Regions from separate parts of the Homo sapiens genome. Here all the other regions are linked to region 5. The links are contacts of gene promoters, found by promoter capture Hi-C in blood cells and fetal thymus (Javierre and others, 2016). All regions are on one chromosome and are shown on one strand. The core of a region is centred on a gene start or on the middle of the fragment in contact, and the rest is flanking DNA. Distances in the headings are between cores, read along the strand shown.

Region 1 (2,700 bases), core at 187-2,686, 270 kb after region 5:
TCTTTTGGTCATACCCTCACCTCCAATCAGTCAAGAAATCCTGTTTGTTCCATGTTCAAAATATATTCAAAATTTGACTACTTTTTTATCACTCCATAGGTATCACCCCAGTCGCCATCCAGGACACCATTGTCTCTTGCCTGGATTATTATAACAATAGCCTCCTAACTGCTTATCCTACTTCGCATTCTCCCCTACTCCCCATAGCCATTCACAAGACCAGAATGAAGAATGATCCGTTTAGGATGCAAGGTAGTTCATAAAATTCTCTGTTCAAAAGCCTGCAATAGATGCCTCCTTCATTCAAAGTAAGAGCCCAAGTCTTCACCAAGGTCTACAAAGCCTACAATATCTGGCCCCCACCATTACCTTCCTGTCTCATTTCCTACTATTCTCCACCTTCTTTACTCACTTAATCCATACTGGTTCCTCATAGCTCCTCAAGCATGCCAGGCATGCTTTCATCTCAGGGCCTTGGCTTTTCCCCAAAATAGGTGCACAACTCACTCCCTCGCCTCCTTCGAGTCTTTTCTCAAGTGTCACCTTCTAGTGAGGCCTACCCTGACCATCCGACTCAGCACTCCTCATCTCCTTTCCCTGGTTTCTTTTTCTCCATAGCTTTTACCACCTTCCTACATACTATTCTTTTAATAATTTCACTATCTCCCCGACCAGAATGGAAACTCTATGATGGGCACTGTTTTATCTCCTGTACCTAGAATAGTATCTGGCATACAGAAAGGACTCAAAAAATATACATTGAACTGAATTGAGATAATCTGGATAGAAGAAAATTATGGTGCTCCCTAGAAAAATATTATTTTTGCTAAAGTATAAACACTGTGGACAATGAAGATGAGGGTTAAACAAAATTTCTTATAAAAATAAGGGCACTTTACTTGTCTTTCATTTCTAAAACAACTGGAATTTAAGGAAGGACAGAAAGGAGTCTCCTCATTTTATGGATGGAGAAATCAAGGCCCTGGAAGCTTGTTCTAAGCCATCCAATGAGTTAAGGTTTTCCAATGCTTCCAGTTAGATTATAATTCTAACAGGTCTGACTAAAAGCCCTTTCTGGTAAATTGTACAATCTTTAAAATAGCTATCCTTCTACAGCAGCTTGGAGTCCCTACACATTAGAACTCCACTAAATATTAAAATTAGTCACTAAGTCTGAGCAACCTAATTGACCGCTCTGTTGAATCTTACCCTTTCCTATTTCAGCTCCACCGGCCTTGACTTGAAAGTAGGTAACCAAATATAGTTCATCTAGGAAGGGGGAAATTGGTAAAGGCAAGAAATGATATAAATAAGCTGCCAGACCAGGATCTTGTGTGAACACGATACCAGCACCTCCAACACCACATAGAAGCTGAAAGAGGGGTTGAGCCTCTCAACCCTTGTCCTGGGAGCTTCAAGTATGGTGAGGCACAACTTTTATTAAAAGAGTTTACAAACAGAACTATTAAACACACACACACATACACACACACATATACACACACACCCCAAAAAAAGATACACTCTCCACGCCCACCCACAGATAGGAATGTTGGCTAAGGGATAATCCCTCAATAACAGGGACTGATGGCATTGATCCCCACAGCCTAGAGCTGAGACAGGCTCTGTCTTCATCACTGTCCTGGGGCCAGCACGTCTAAGGCAAAAACCTGCTGGGAAGATTAAAGGAGCTCCAGAAAGGAAGAGATCTTTCAGGTTGAGGTTTTTCCCTAAGGTCCGTGAGGCAGGTCCCTAGAGTTAAAGGCACATTATTGGAGAAAAGGCCCCTGGATGTAGAGAAGAAAGGACTCTTCTCTGGCACCAACAGCAATAAAATTTACTGGTTGAAAACATCCTGCATCTGGGAGAAGGAAGAAGCTTTATATATAAATCTCTTCTAGTTTCTTGTTCTCAGTTGAGTTGGCAGCTTATCTCTTTTCTAGTCTCTTTAGCTCTCAGTTGAGTTGGCGGCTTGTGTAGTAGAATAAGAAAGAGCTGGCAACCAAAGTTGGAGGCTGGACCGCAGGAATCTGGAATCACATGCTATGGGCTGGCCTCAGGAGGTGAATGAGTTTCCTGCAGTGTTTGGCAGAGGCAGGCCTAGGACTGCTGTGTGGCAGTGACTGATTCCCCAGAGAGAGCAAGGATAGTTTCTCACTGGCACCCAGGGACACCAGTACCTGTAGGATAGAGAACAGATGATAGAACAGAACATGAGGCTCAGAAATGGTGGTGTCTGGGGCAGGTGCGGAGGACTCTCATTTACCCAGGAATTCCCACTCGAGAAGAGGAAGAAAAAGGAAATGGGCTCTTGGGGACTTGGAATAGACTGAATGGCAGAAGAGAAACCTTGGAGATAGGAATCATCAGGACCAGAAGTCTACTTCCATTCTCTTTGGTTATAGACCATGAAACCAAGGCACTAAGGGACACATATACTTGTCCCCAGGAAGACTTGATGAATGCAGCAGTAACTCACAGTAAGCCAAAAGGTCTAATTCCTAGCCTTCAATGCAGACCAGTGAGTTCTAACCTCATTACCACCAAGAATCCCATTAATTATTTTCCCCATGGATTGCACAAGATTCCTATAGGATCTTCACCATCGGCCAGGCAAGGTGGCTCATGCCTGTAATCCCGTACTTTGGGAGGCCAAGGCGGGCGGGTCACGAGGTCAGGACATCGAGACCATCCTGGCTA
Region 2 (2,700 bases), core at 54-2,553, 390 kb before region 5:
GCAAGTAATGCTCCTGTCTCAGCCTCCCAAAGCACTGGGATTAGGGGTGTGAGCCACTGCGCCCAGCCTGCCAACAATCTTAAAACTAATTTTATTTACCCAAAAGACTTAACAAGGCCCATGTGTTCAGATTCCTGTCTGTGTCCCCATCTTTGGAGGAAGGACACCTTTCACATGGGGAAAGGATCAGGGAGATCCCTTCAGGAGAGAAGGATCAGGGAAGTCAGAGAGATTGTCCTGCACATGCTGTTTCTCAGATCCTTCCAGCTTAAAATATTCAACATGCCAGTGTGCCATGTTTCTGGGTGGCATGTCCTGAACCCTCTTATTGGATAGTATAAATGGCTATTCACTCTGAAAATCTGTTGAGCTGTATCTTTACATTCTGTCTACTTCTGTTCATATGTATTACCTTTCATAATCAAAAGGTAAAAATACTTTTTTTAAAAAAAAGCATAAAAGCTTCTAAACACAAAAGTTGGTGTCAGAAATATTCTAAATGGAAAGAGGAAAAGAGTGGCTCCTAAGATGACTGGATTATTAGAAGTAAAGAAATGCCCTCCCTTCTTGCCCAATAAACTCCAGAAGCTCCCAGAGTGGCCCTAGGCGAGAAGAGATGAGAGGGAGGGTCAGCCGTGCTCTCCAGGGAAATCCCCTTGTTTTCCCCAGGCCAGCCCCAAAGGGGCACTAGTCTACACTGAACTCTCAACTTCCAGGCAATAGAGACCACCCTTTCTCTGCTGCTTTATTTGACAGCTTAGGAAAGACTGAAATGTTCAAACAAAAATGAACAACAACAGAAAGCCTTGACAAAGGAAAGCCAGATGCAGAGGACCATGGATCCACATATCCTAAATGCAAGGGAGAGCCTGCTCTCCAGGCTCCAGAGCCTTCCACTCATGGGCTACCCCAGGAATAATAGGGACTCCTCCCTGAGTCTCCCCACTCCTGACTCCAGGCTTTCCTCCCACAGCAGGTGACATTCCTAAGTTTGTATGCATGTGCCAGCACACATTTATATATACAAGTGCAATATGTACATAGTAATGCACACACATATTCTCAAACCTACACACATACACCTCACACACATACATAAACGTAACATATATACACCTACACACACATAAACAGACACATGCGGACTTACACATGGACATCTATACAGAAACACACACATGTAAGCATACATGCACACACACAACACAGGTGCACATGCACATACAATGTTTGCAAACATATACAGCCACAGGCATAGACACACATATACACCTGGATACATATACAAACCCATCACACATGCATACATATGCTCATTCACATACTACAAATACATACAAAAAGGCATACACATATATGCACACATGCACAACATACAAACACAGAGACATGCATGTAGGCATAATACATGCATGCATACTCGTGCGCAAAAAACACACATGTGCAATACACAGATACATATACATAAATGCATGCATACACATATGCAGACAATACATAGATACATGTCACACAAACATATTGCTATATATCCATATATACATATGCAAAAACATACACATATATACACAAACACACACATCTTTATGTACACACCCACAAACACACACCCCACATACCCACACGCACATACTGCATGTGATAGCCATCCTACAAGATGACCTCCAGTGATCCTTACCTCTTGGAATTCATGCCTTTGTGTAGTCCCTCCCACAGTGTATCAGGGTTGGTCTCTGTGGCCAGTATAATATGGCAGAAATGATGGCATGGGACTTCCAAAGCTAGGTTTTAAAAACACTGTGGCTTTTGCCTGGTTCTCTCTCTCTCTCAGGTCACTCACTCCAGAGGAAGCCAGCTGCTGTGTCATGAGGCACTCAAGCAGCCATATGGAGAGGCTGATGTGGTAGGGAACTGAGACCTCCTGCCAACAGCCAGCATCGTCTTGCCAGGAGGGTGAGTCATCTTGAAAGTGGATCCTCTAGCCCCACGCAAGCCTTCAGAAGACTACAGCCAACCCTGAGTAACATCTTCACTGCAACTTCAAGAGAGACCCTGAACCAAAAATACCCAGCTAAGCCTCTCTCAGATTCCCAGTCCACAGAAACTGTGAAATAGATGTTTATAGTTTAAGCGACTAAGCTTTGGGGTAATTTGTCATGTAGCAATAAGCCATAGATATTCTTTGCTAAAACTGGATTTTTAAAAAAAGTAATAGACAATGAATACAAGTACACTACATGTACACATATACACATTGACACACACATCCCATCTACATACACAAATACATCTCCCACACATACAAACCTACATACGCACACACAAACACACATGCATACAGTACACATTGATTCATACAAACACATGCACACACATATAAACACATGGACACAACACCCATGCACAAACATATAAACACATGTATACACATATAAACACATGTACGCATGCGCAAGTCCCGAGAACCCACTTCTAGAGTCTTTGGGCTCTTCACCATCTAGATGCCCACCTGGGGCTCCCCATAGAGCTCTGACCCATCTCGGAGGAGCTGCCTCTTCTCTCTCTTTTTTTTTTTTTTTTTGAGATGGAGTTTTGCTCTGTCACCCAGGCTGGAATGCAGTGGCACAATCTCTGCTCACTGCAACCTCTGCCTCCCGGGTTCAAGCAATTCTTCTGCCTCAGCCTCCAGAGTAGCTGGGA
Region 3 (2,704 bases), core at 125-2,624, 360 kb before region 5:
AGGCTTATGTCTTTTCACACATTTGGGAATTTTTCAGAAATTATTTCTTCAAAATTTTTGTGTGTACTGCACTTTATCCTCTTAATCTGGAATTCCAATGACATTAATTTTGGACTTTTGATATTGCCCTACAGGTCCCTGAAGTTCTGTTAACTTTTTTTTTCCCAATGTTTTTTCTCTCTCTTGTTCTGATTGGATTATTTCTGTTGACCCATCTTCAAGTTGACTGACTCTTCTGTCATTTCTATCCCGCTTGGAGCTCATCCAGTGAGTTTTTATTTTAGTTATTATATTTTTTCATTTCTCAAATGGCACTTTAGAAAAACAAACAGAACAACCAGTGATAGGAGATGGGATTGGAGAAATAAGTCCAAAATTGCCTAGACAGAGCTCTGTAGGCAACAGTAGAGCGTCCAGATCTTATGCAAAGTACAGAGGAAAAATCACTGGGGATTTTAAGGAAGGGAATAGAATTATGTGATATATAATTTTAAAAGGCTACTTGAGAATATATTGATAGGGGAAAGAGTGGAATCAATAGATCAGTTAGGAAGTGTTGTCTTGGTCCAAGAAAGACTGTGGTGGCCTGGGCGAGGCAATCACAGGAGCCTAGCACCTCTATCTGGCCCTGCACTGCCCCAACAGGCAGCCTGAACCTCAGGGGGCTCTAGATCCTTATGCTTCCAAGGAAACTGCTTCTTGATTCCTGTCACCATGGCAGCTACACTTCTCCTACCTGGATTGGTCGCTGGAGTGGCATCATCAGCACTAAATGACTGATCCTCACAATAAGAACTGGTTGTCATGGTGCTACCAATTATGCAAACAAGAATCTGCCTTTCTTCTGCAGGCTCAGCGTCCTTGACTAGCTCTGTACCTAAGGGAAAATCAGGGAGAGAGAGAAGATCATGACGTCGGAGCCAAGGGGAGGCTAGCTGTCAGGTGGTTGCTGAGTCACTATTCCTCAAGACTTGCCCAAGTCAAGACTGCAACTAGAGGCCCTTATATAGTGGGGTGAGGGGAGCTTACACTGTGGAGGGGGAGCCCCTGGCACATATACACACAAATTCCAAATCCGATTTTCCTCCCATTTTAGAGCTTCTTTGAACTGTTTCCTTCTCTGAGCAAAACTTTGTCACAGATTGAGGCCTTCCTCCTCTCCCAGCCCCATTACCCTGCAGAGAGGCAGTTTTAGGACAACTTGCTACTGGATTTTTTAAAGTGAGTTTTCATGAAAATTCTTTAAGCAGGCTTGTCTGCAAGTAAGACAGTGGGCCTCAGCCAGAGCTTCTGAATTAAAATATGTAAAGCCAGAACAGAGAGGACATTTGGGGTGGGGATTGAAATAGTAAAACTCCTTGGTACACATGGAGCCTAGGCTTCTGATCTCCTTCTCCTTCCGGACATCATTTGTAACATGAATGTAAGACAGAGTAGGACCACAGCTGAATTACAATCTTCCTTCGCCCACTCTCCCCAGCTACACTTTATGGTAGTCTTTCTTTCTTCTTGGGAAAGAAAGTTCCTTCCTACGAACCCCTGGTTCAATAGGCCTGAAAACCTGCTAAGTCTTCTGAGGGTATTACTCTTAGCATTAGAATCCCTTCCAATGAACAGTAAAAAGAAGAGCAGCATCAATGCTCCTGTACATTTATCATTTTGATAGCCATTCTCCTGGTGGTTTAAAATCTTAAAATACAGAGAGGAGCACACTCACCTTTGTTCAGCCGACCCAAAGACCAATATTTCCCTTTTTCCAGGAGCATTATACTTCACAAAGCAGGTTCACGTTCATTTGCTCTTAGGCCTCAAATTATTGCTATAAATTTATTTTAAAATAGCATGTCCAGTACATAATCAGTGACAACCAGATAAACCTCTAGTTTTTGGCGTGACAAGACAGAAACTTGTGTCGGATCCTCCTAACATTGGGTATATACTCTAGGCAAAATATAAAAATAACTGTATGAAAGCATGGAGACTGATCAAGAGTTAGAAACCTACAGGGAGTATAGTCCTCAAAAAAAGGAAGTCCACCAAGTGACTTATACATGTATAGGCTTTTCCTCTGAAGATACTTCAGAGTTCACTGCAGTACACAGGGAAACAGCTCTGTCAGCAACTGGCAGTCTTACTAAGGAAACAGCTTTTGGAGTACAGAGATGCCAGAGCATCTGGAAATTGAGGAAGAAATTTAGAAAATGAATAAATTACAGAGAGAGGAACTCAAAATCTGCATCCTAACTCCCCTCCAATTCTTAGCTATCTTCTAAATGGCACTTGCGCAGGGTGAGATTTCAAGGAACCTAGTGAAAAAGTCAAATATCTGAACAGAGATTTTGGCAGCTGTCACAGTGTTAGGGTGACTGAGTTTGGAGTTCAGGACCCGTAAAATAGAGAGTTTTGGTAAATGACTTTGGGTTATGTTGAAATCCAAAAAGGACCACACCTTAGCCATAAGCACCATATCCCAGGACTAAGAGATACAGGCTAGAATTGAGAATAGGATGAAGTACTCCTTCCCTAACCAGACTGCCACAGGATCAAGACTTTTTACCAAAAATTTAATTGCCTGCCAGAACAAACTCAAACTATTACCCTTTAAAGATAATAATATAATTCAGATCCTTTGTAATGTATCAACCCCAAATGTTCACTATACAAACCCTTAGGTTTAAGTAATCCACTATCTCGACCTCCCAAA
Region 4 (2,709 bases), core at 183-2,682, 340 kb after region 5:
ACTGGCTCAGCAGCTACACTAAGGTGTTAAAGCACAAGGATACTATGGAAAGGCAGATGACTAGAGAGGAAAATCTCCAATTCAGAATTCTATAACTGCTTCACAGTATAATTCTGTAGTGCCTTACTATATAATTGATCATCTAAACTGAGACACACTGGGAAAACTTAAAGAGGGTACTATTAATAATTATGCTGGGACAACAGACATAAACCAGGATGGTTCCAGCCAGACTCTTCAGGAAGGCTGGGACCACATAACCTTTTGTCTGCTTTTGCCCTGATTCTTAAAAGCCATACTCTGTGTCCTTCCTATGTAGCACATGCAAGAGGTCTCCTGGGAACCTCTTTCTCTACCTTTTCCTTGTCTCACCTGACTACCCAGATGTCCCCACAACCCTTGTACCTCCCCTTCTTGCCCAACAATGACAGACCATATTGAAGCCAAATTGGAGAGAGATGTATTTATACCAGTGGGGCTAAGGAGGAAGCAGTCCAGTGGGGGACTTTGAGTGCTGTGCAGTGTTCTCTTAAGAGTCGTAGTACAGTCCTGGGGTCAAGTCTCTTTCCCTAATCTTTGCTGGGGAAGCCTTGAGCCTTGATTTATCCTTCCCTTGGCTTTGGGCTTTGAGGAAGTTGGGGATGGAGGGGATGATGCTTCTTTAGGTTTCTCTATTCCAAGCCCCTCTGAATTTCTAGTTGCAACCTGCCTTCACACAGAGTTGATGGGAAAGATTAGTTGTAGATGTCGGTATGGGATTGAGCCTACAGCAAGAGGAAGAAGGGAACTCCAGTATAGAGTACACAAAGGAAAAGGGCAGGAAAGATACCAAAGGCTTATGAAAACAAAGGAAGGGAAGAAAAGAGAAAAAAGGTGGAAAATCAGGTCCCAGATTGCTTGTTAGGAAGAATGAGGTAATTTTGTGCCTAGGAATGCACAATCCAAAGCTTGATTTTCACCACCTCCATTTGTTCTCTCGAGCATCCTTCCAGATGTTTCTCCCCGTCTAAAGCCAGCACACCAACCCTTCCCGTGAAATGCCCACCTCAGGACTCATCCCCCTCCAGGCCTTCCTGGATGCAGATATACACAAAGATGGAAGCTGGGCGGAGGCTGATGCCATCTTTGGACAGCAGGTGAATGTGGCGGTAACCTGGAAGGGGCAGGAGGACAGCATTAGGAAGGCAGCCAGAGCTGGGGTATTGGCCAGGGGCCAAAGGGGCTGGCTCACCTTGTTGCATGCAGGTCCAAGGCAGGGTGTACTGACCAATAAAGTCATTTCGGGATTTCCAGTCATAATCCATTACCACAAAACGCAGCATGGCAAGTTCAGGCACCAGCACCCGGAAACATAGTGTCTGCCCCCAGTATGGATTAAAACCTGAGTTGGTGGACAGAAAGAAATAAGAAGACATTATGACAGTTTTCTTGACTGGGTTGCTTTTCTTGTGTTCTCATTTAATCTAGATGGCAATCAGCATTTTACAGGTAAGGAAAAAGGCTCAGAGTAAGCAAGTAATTTGCCCAGGTCACTGGAGCTTTTAAGTGAAGAGCCAGGATTCTTTGTACTGTTCCACACTGCCTCCCATGTGGGGACATGCAATAACAGATGCTATACTTAATGGAAGACAGACTAGAAGGAAAACTAATCATGCTCCTACCCCCACCTCCCCAGCACTGCCAGTTTCTCACCATTGTTCTCCACATAGTTGGTCTCCTGCCGTGCTGTGTCTAGACGAACGCCAAAGATCTGCACTTTCACCAGTGGATCCACAATGGACCCCTCTTTGGTCTTGTCCACTTTGGGGAGTTGCTGACCGCTGATCACCTGTAGTCAGGGCTCTGGAATCTCACAAGTTCCTGCTCAGCCCAGCCCCACCCGACCCTACTCCCAACCCCAGGGGAGAAGAAGCTTTTTGGTTTGTAAAACATCCTCCATGGGTAATATATTTTCTTCTAGTATTCTATCTGCAATTTAAAATGCACCCAAAGGCCGGGCACGGTGGCTCACACCTGTAATCCCAACACTTCAGGAGGCCGAGGTGGGCAGATCACTTGAAACCAGGAGACCAGCCTGGCCAACATGGTGAAACCCTATCTCTACTAAAAATACAAAAATTAGCCAGGCATGGTGGCGGGCGCCTGTAGTCCCAGCTACTCGGAAGGCTCAGATGGGAGAATCACTTGAACCCAGGAGGCGGAGGTTGCAGTGAGCCAAGATCATGCCACTGCACTCCAGCCTGCAGCAGAGCAAGACTCTGTCTCAGAATAAACAAATAAATTAAATGGATCCAGGTAGAAATTCAACAGTTTGAAAGTAGGCATGCTAATGACAGCAGCCACTTTTTTTTTTTCAAAGAGACACGATCATACTCTTGACCAAGCTGGAATGCAGTGGGGCAGTCATAGCTCACTGCAACCTCCATCTCCTGGGCTAAAGTGACCCTCCAGCCTTAGCCTCCTGAGTAGCCAGGACTATCTATAGTCATGTGCCACCATGCCAGGCTAATTTTTAAATTTTTTGTAGAGACGGGAGTCTCTACAAAATTTTTAAATTTTTTGTTGAGACCAGTTTCAGACTGGTCTCAAACTCCTGGGCTCAAGCAGTCCTCCTGCCTTGGCCTCCAAAGCGCTGGGATTACAGGTGTAAGCTATCGCTCCCAGCCAGCCTCTTTTATAGCACTTCCTGTGTGCCAGGAATTGTAAGAA
Region 5 (2,700 bases), core at 69-2,568:
TCTGCCATGGAACATGTTGGGTGAGTTCTCTGTCACCAGAGTGTTCAGCAGACCCTTCTGTGAGAAGCAGAGAGGGGAGGTGGACTAGGCGACTTCTCTAACCTTGAGACTCTTGGAATCCTGTGAAGGAGTCAATAAAGGGGGGATTTTAGTCATTGTTGGGGAGCTGGGGGAGATATTGTTAGATTAAGGGATCTTCTTACCTATGAAATTGCATCCTTAAAGCTCACCCCATTACTCTGTTCTTTCCTGTCCACATAGCCAGTTTGGGAGGCTAAGATATAGAACTGGGAACCAGAAATTCTGAGTTCCAGTTGCAGCTTGGCAACTAACTTGCTGTGTGACCTTCACATAATCACATCTCTTTTCTGGGATTTCATTCTCCTCTCATTTAAATAATAAGGCTGAACCAGAGATTTGCAAACTCTGCTCTGTGGAACTTTAAGGGTCAATTAGGTTCTCTCTGTTCCAAAAAAAAAAAAAAAGAAGAGCTGGAAAACGTCTATCCAAGATGACCTACAGGTCGAACCCAATCTCAGAATGCAGTAGATGGGTATCCTCTTCTCCAGATTATCTCAGCTCTAGGAGCCCCTGCCTTTGTGATGTCTCCAAGCCCTGAGTTACTGTGGTCTTGGCAGGACTGTACTCCACCCAATCCCTGAAGAAGCCACAGTCTTACCACACTCAGCTTCCTGATGATCCAGGCCTGTCCTCATGGACCCTTAACCCCTTGGTCCTTGGCTCTCCAAGGTATCGATCCCACCATTGCTTTCCTCTGCCAATCCAGGGTCAAGCCCCTCTTGCATTTTCTGAAGTTCTGAGCCTTTTCTTTATCACCTCATTCAAGTCGCTAGTGAAAGTATGGTTCACTCCCCTGCCGTATGCTTGCACTACAGTTTACAAAATGCTTTCACACCCATCACTTTTTTGACCCCTCCAAGGTTAGGAAGACAGGGCAGGTATTGCTTTATCTGCTGGGAGGATAAATAAACGAAGGCCCCAGATGTTAAATGACTTGGTTGAAGTCCCAGGGCTTGTTCTAAGACCTGTATCTTCTTATTCCTCTGCCAGACCTTTTCCCACTGCTCCAAGTGACCTTTCCACAGTCCTGAGCAGTCACTGATCACTTTGTTTTTAGGATCATTCCCATGCAGGATGACACAGACCCATATCTCCTCCAGTAACATGCGCTCTGTGCAACTAAGCTCCACACACTATCACTTGCAGATGGAATTAGAAGCCCTGCTAACATGCAGCTTGAGGACATTCATGTCCATACTGTTTGGGACCTGCACAGTCACAGTGCAATGATGCCACTGAAGGCACTGAGGCTCACAGAGCACTCTCATATGCCAGCTCACGTGACCATAGACAGACATCATAATGGGCCACTGTGATGCACTTTTCTCAGAGCCTTCTGCTCTTCTGGCCTCCACCTTTCCTTTAATATGTCTTTGAAATGCACCAAAATGAACTTGTTTCTTTAGCTATTTATAATCCATGTCAAGTGGATCTGCTGATGATAAAAGTATGCCTTACCACTCATTGAACATGACTCTGCCAGGCTCTGCCCTATGCTAATGTTTTACAGGTGGTATTTCCTTTGACCTGGCTACAACCTTACCAGATGGGGATGGTTATCTCTGTTTTCAAATGAGGGAACCAAGGCTTGGAGAAGTGAAGTGGCTGGGCCAGCCCATGACCTGACAACTGAAATCCTTACCATCCCACTAGATCCCCTCTTACTGGCCTTCCTGGATAGCTTCTTCCTCATGTAAACATGACCTGCTGCTTGCCCAGTACAGGTGCACACCGCCTACAATTGGTTATAAAGGACAAACTGACAGCTTGCCTTATGAGTGTCCTTGGTTAGGTCTCTGTTTGATAAGGAAGTACATTTTGTCCCTGATAAGAAATAGAGACTATTTTGTTGCCCCAATGCCTTTTGCAAGCTTTCACTTTCCTAACTGAGGCGCTGCAGGCTTGGAGAAGATCACTGTACTCTGAGGTGGGGTGGGGCTCTGATTATATATTGACTTGAGTGGCATTTCCTACTTTTGTTTGGTCAGCAGGATTTCTCCATGACACTCCTCCATCTTGGGATGACGCATGTCATGTATAGAGGTGAATGGTTCAATGTCCCATTGACTGTGATGTTTCCTATTTCTTTTGTTTTCTTTGTTTAGAGATAGAGTCTCACTCTGTTGCCCAGGCTGGAGGACAGTGACATGATCATAGCTTACTGCAACCTTGAACTCCTGGGCTCAAGAGATCTTCCCATCTCAGCCTCCCATGTAGCTGAGACTACAGGCATGCACCACCATGCCCAGCTTGTTTTAATCTTATTTTGCTTTTGTAGAGATAGGGGTCTCACTGTGTTGCCCTGGCTGGCGTCAAACTCCTGGCTACAGATGATTCTCCCACCTTGGCCTCCCAAAGTGCTTGGATTACAGGCATGAGACACTGTGCCTGGATGAATATTTCTTTCTTTCTTTCTTTTTTTTTTTTTTTTGAGACAGAGCCTTGCTCTGTCGTCCAGGCTAGTGCAATCTTGGCTCTCAGCAACTTCCACCTCCTGGGTTCAAGTGATTCTCCTGCCTCAGCCTCCCATGTAGCTGGGATTACAGGCACCCATCACCACGCCCAGCTAATTTTTGTATTTTTAGTAGAGATGGGTTTTCACCATGTCGGCCAGGCTTG

What was found. The method cuts DNA at HindIII sites, captures the fragments that hold promoters and counts their contacts. A CHiCAGO score of 5 or more calls a contact.
Region 1: a fragment that was not itself captured here is called in contact with the fragment with the promoter of LINC00608 in region 5 in 2 of 17 cell types (M1 macrophages and M2 macrophages); the score reaches 5.9 in M1 macrophages.
Region 2: a fragment that was not itself captured here is called in contact with the fragment with the promoter of LINC00608 in region 5 in 8 of 17 cell types (M2 macrophages, activated CD4 T cells, non-activated CD4 T cells and 5 more); the score reaches 8.6 in M2 macrophages.
Region 3: a fragment that was not itself captured here is called in contact with the fragment with the promoter of LINC00608 in region 5 in 9 of 17 cell types (M2 macrophages, M1 macrophages, erythroblasts and 6 more); the score reaches 10.0 in M2 macrophages.
Region 4: a contact is called between a fragment that was not itself captured here and the fragment with the promoter of LINC00608 in region 5, in 1 of 17 cell types (M2 macrophages). The highest score is 5.0, in M2 macrophages.

The regions. Positions count from the first base shown.
Region 1 is chr2:218,701,346-218,704,045 of GRCh38, reverse strand. It overlaps STK36 (serine/threonine kinase 36), which reads right to left. Exons shown (of 27, transcript NM_015690.5): 27 at 1,331-2,180. The coding sequence ends at 2,037. Among named protein-coding and RNA genes, the nearest start is that of TTLL4, 8.1 kb to the left of the region's middle. The HindIII fragment of the contact is 889 bases long and covers 992-1,880 here.
Region 2 is chr2:219,361,940-219,364,639 of GRCh38, reverse strand. LOC105373883 (a long non-coding RNA gene) reads left to right here. Exons shown (of 2, transcript XR_923917.3): 2 at 1,832-2,138. Among named protein-coding and RNA genes, the nearest start is that of DNPEP, 25 kb to the left of the region's middle. RefSeq lists an enhancer at 2,028-2,077. The HindIII fragment of the contact is 1,677 bases long and covers 465-2,141 here.
Region 3 is chr2:219,333,674-219,336,377 of GRCh38, reverse strand. No RefSeq gene overlaps it. Among named protein-coding and RNA genes, the nearest start is that of RESP18, 2.3 kb to the right of the region's middle. RefSeq lists an enhancer at 456-1,655. The HindIII fragment of the contact is 2,771 bases long and covers 1-2,704 here.
Region 4 is chr2:218,634,915-218,637,623 of GRCh38, reverse strand. PLCD4 (phospholipase C delta 4) reads right to left here. Exons shown (of 16, transcript NM_032726.4): 14 at 1,693-1,828; 15 at 1,232-1,381; 16 at 449-1,153. The coding sequence ends at 1,047. It overlaps ZNF142 (zinc finger protein 142), which reads left to right. Exons shown (of 11, transcript NM_001379659.1): 11 at 1-2,709. Among named protein-coding and RNA genes, the nearest start is that of ZNF142, 23 kb to the left of the region's middle. The HindIII fragment of the contact is 965 bases long and covers 950-1,914 here.
Region 5 is chr2:218,974,902-218,977,601 of GRCh38, reverse strand. It overlaps LINC00608 (long intergenic non-protein coding RNA 608), which reads right to left and starts at 1,318. Exons shown (of 2, transcript NR_024385.1): 1 at 204-1,318; 2 at 1-120. The HindIII fragment of the contact is 22,563 bases long and covers 1-1,954 here.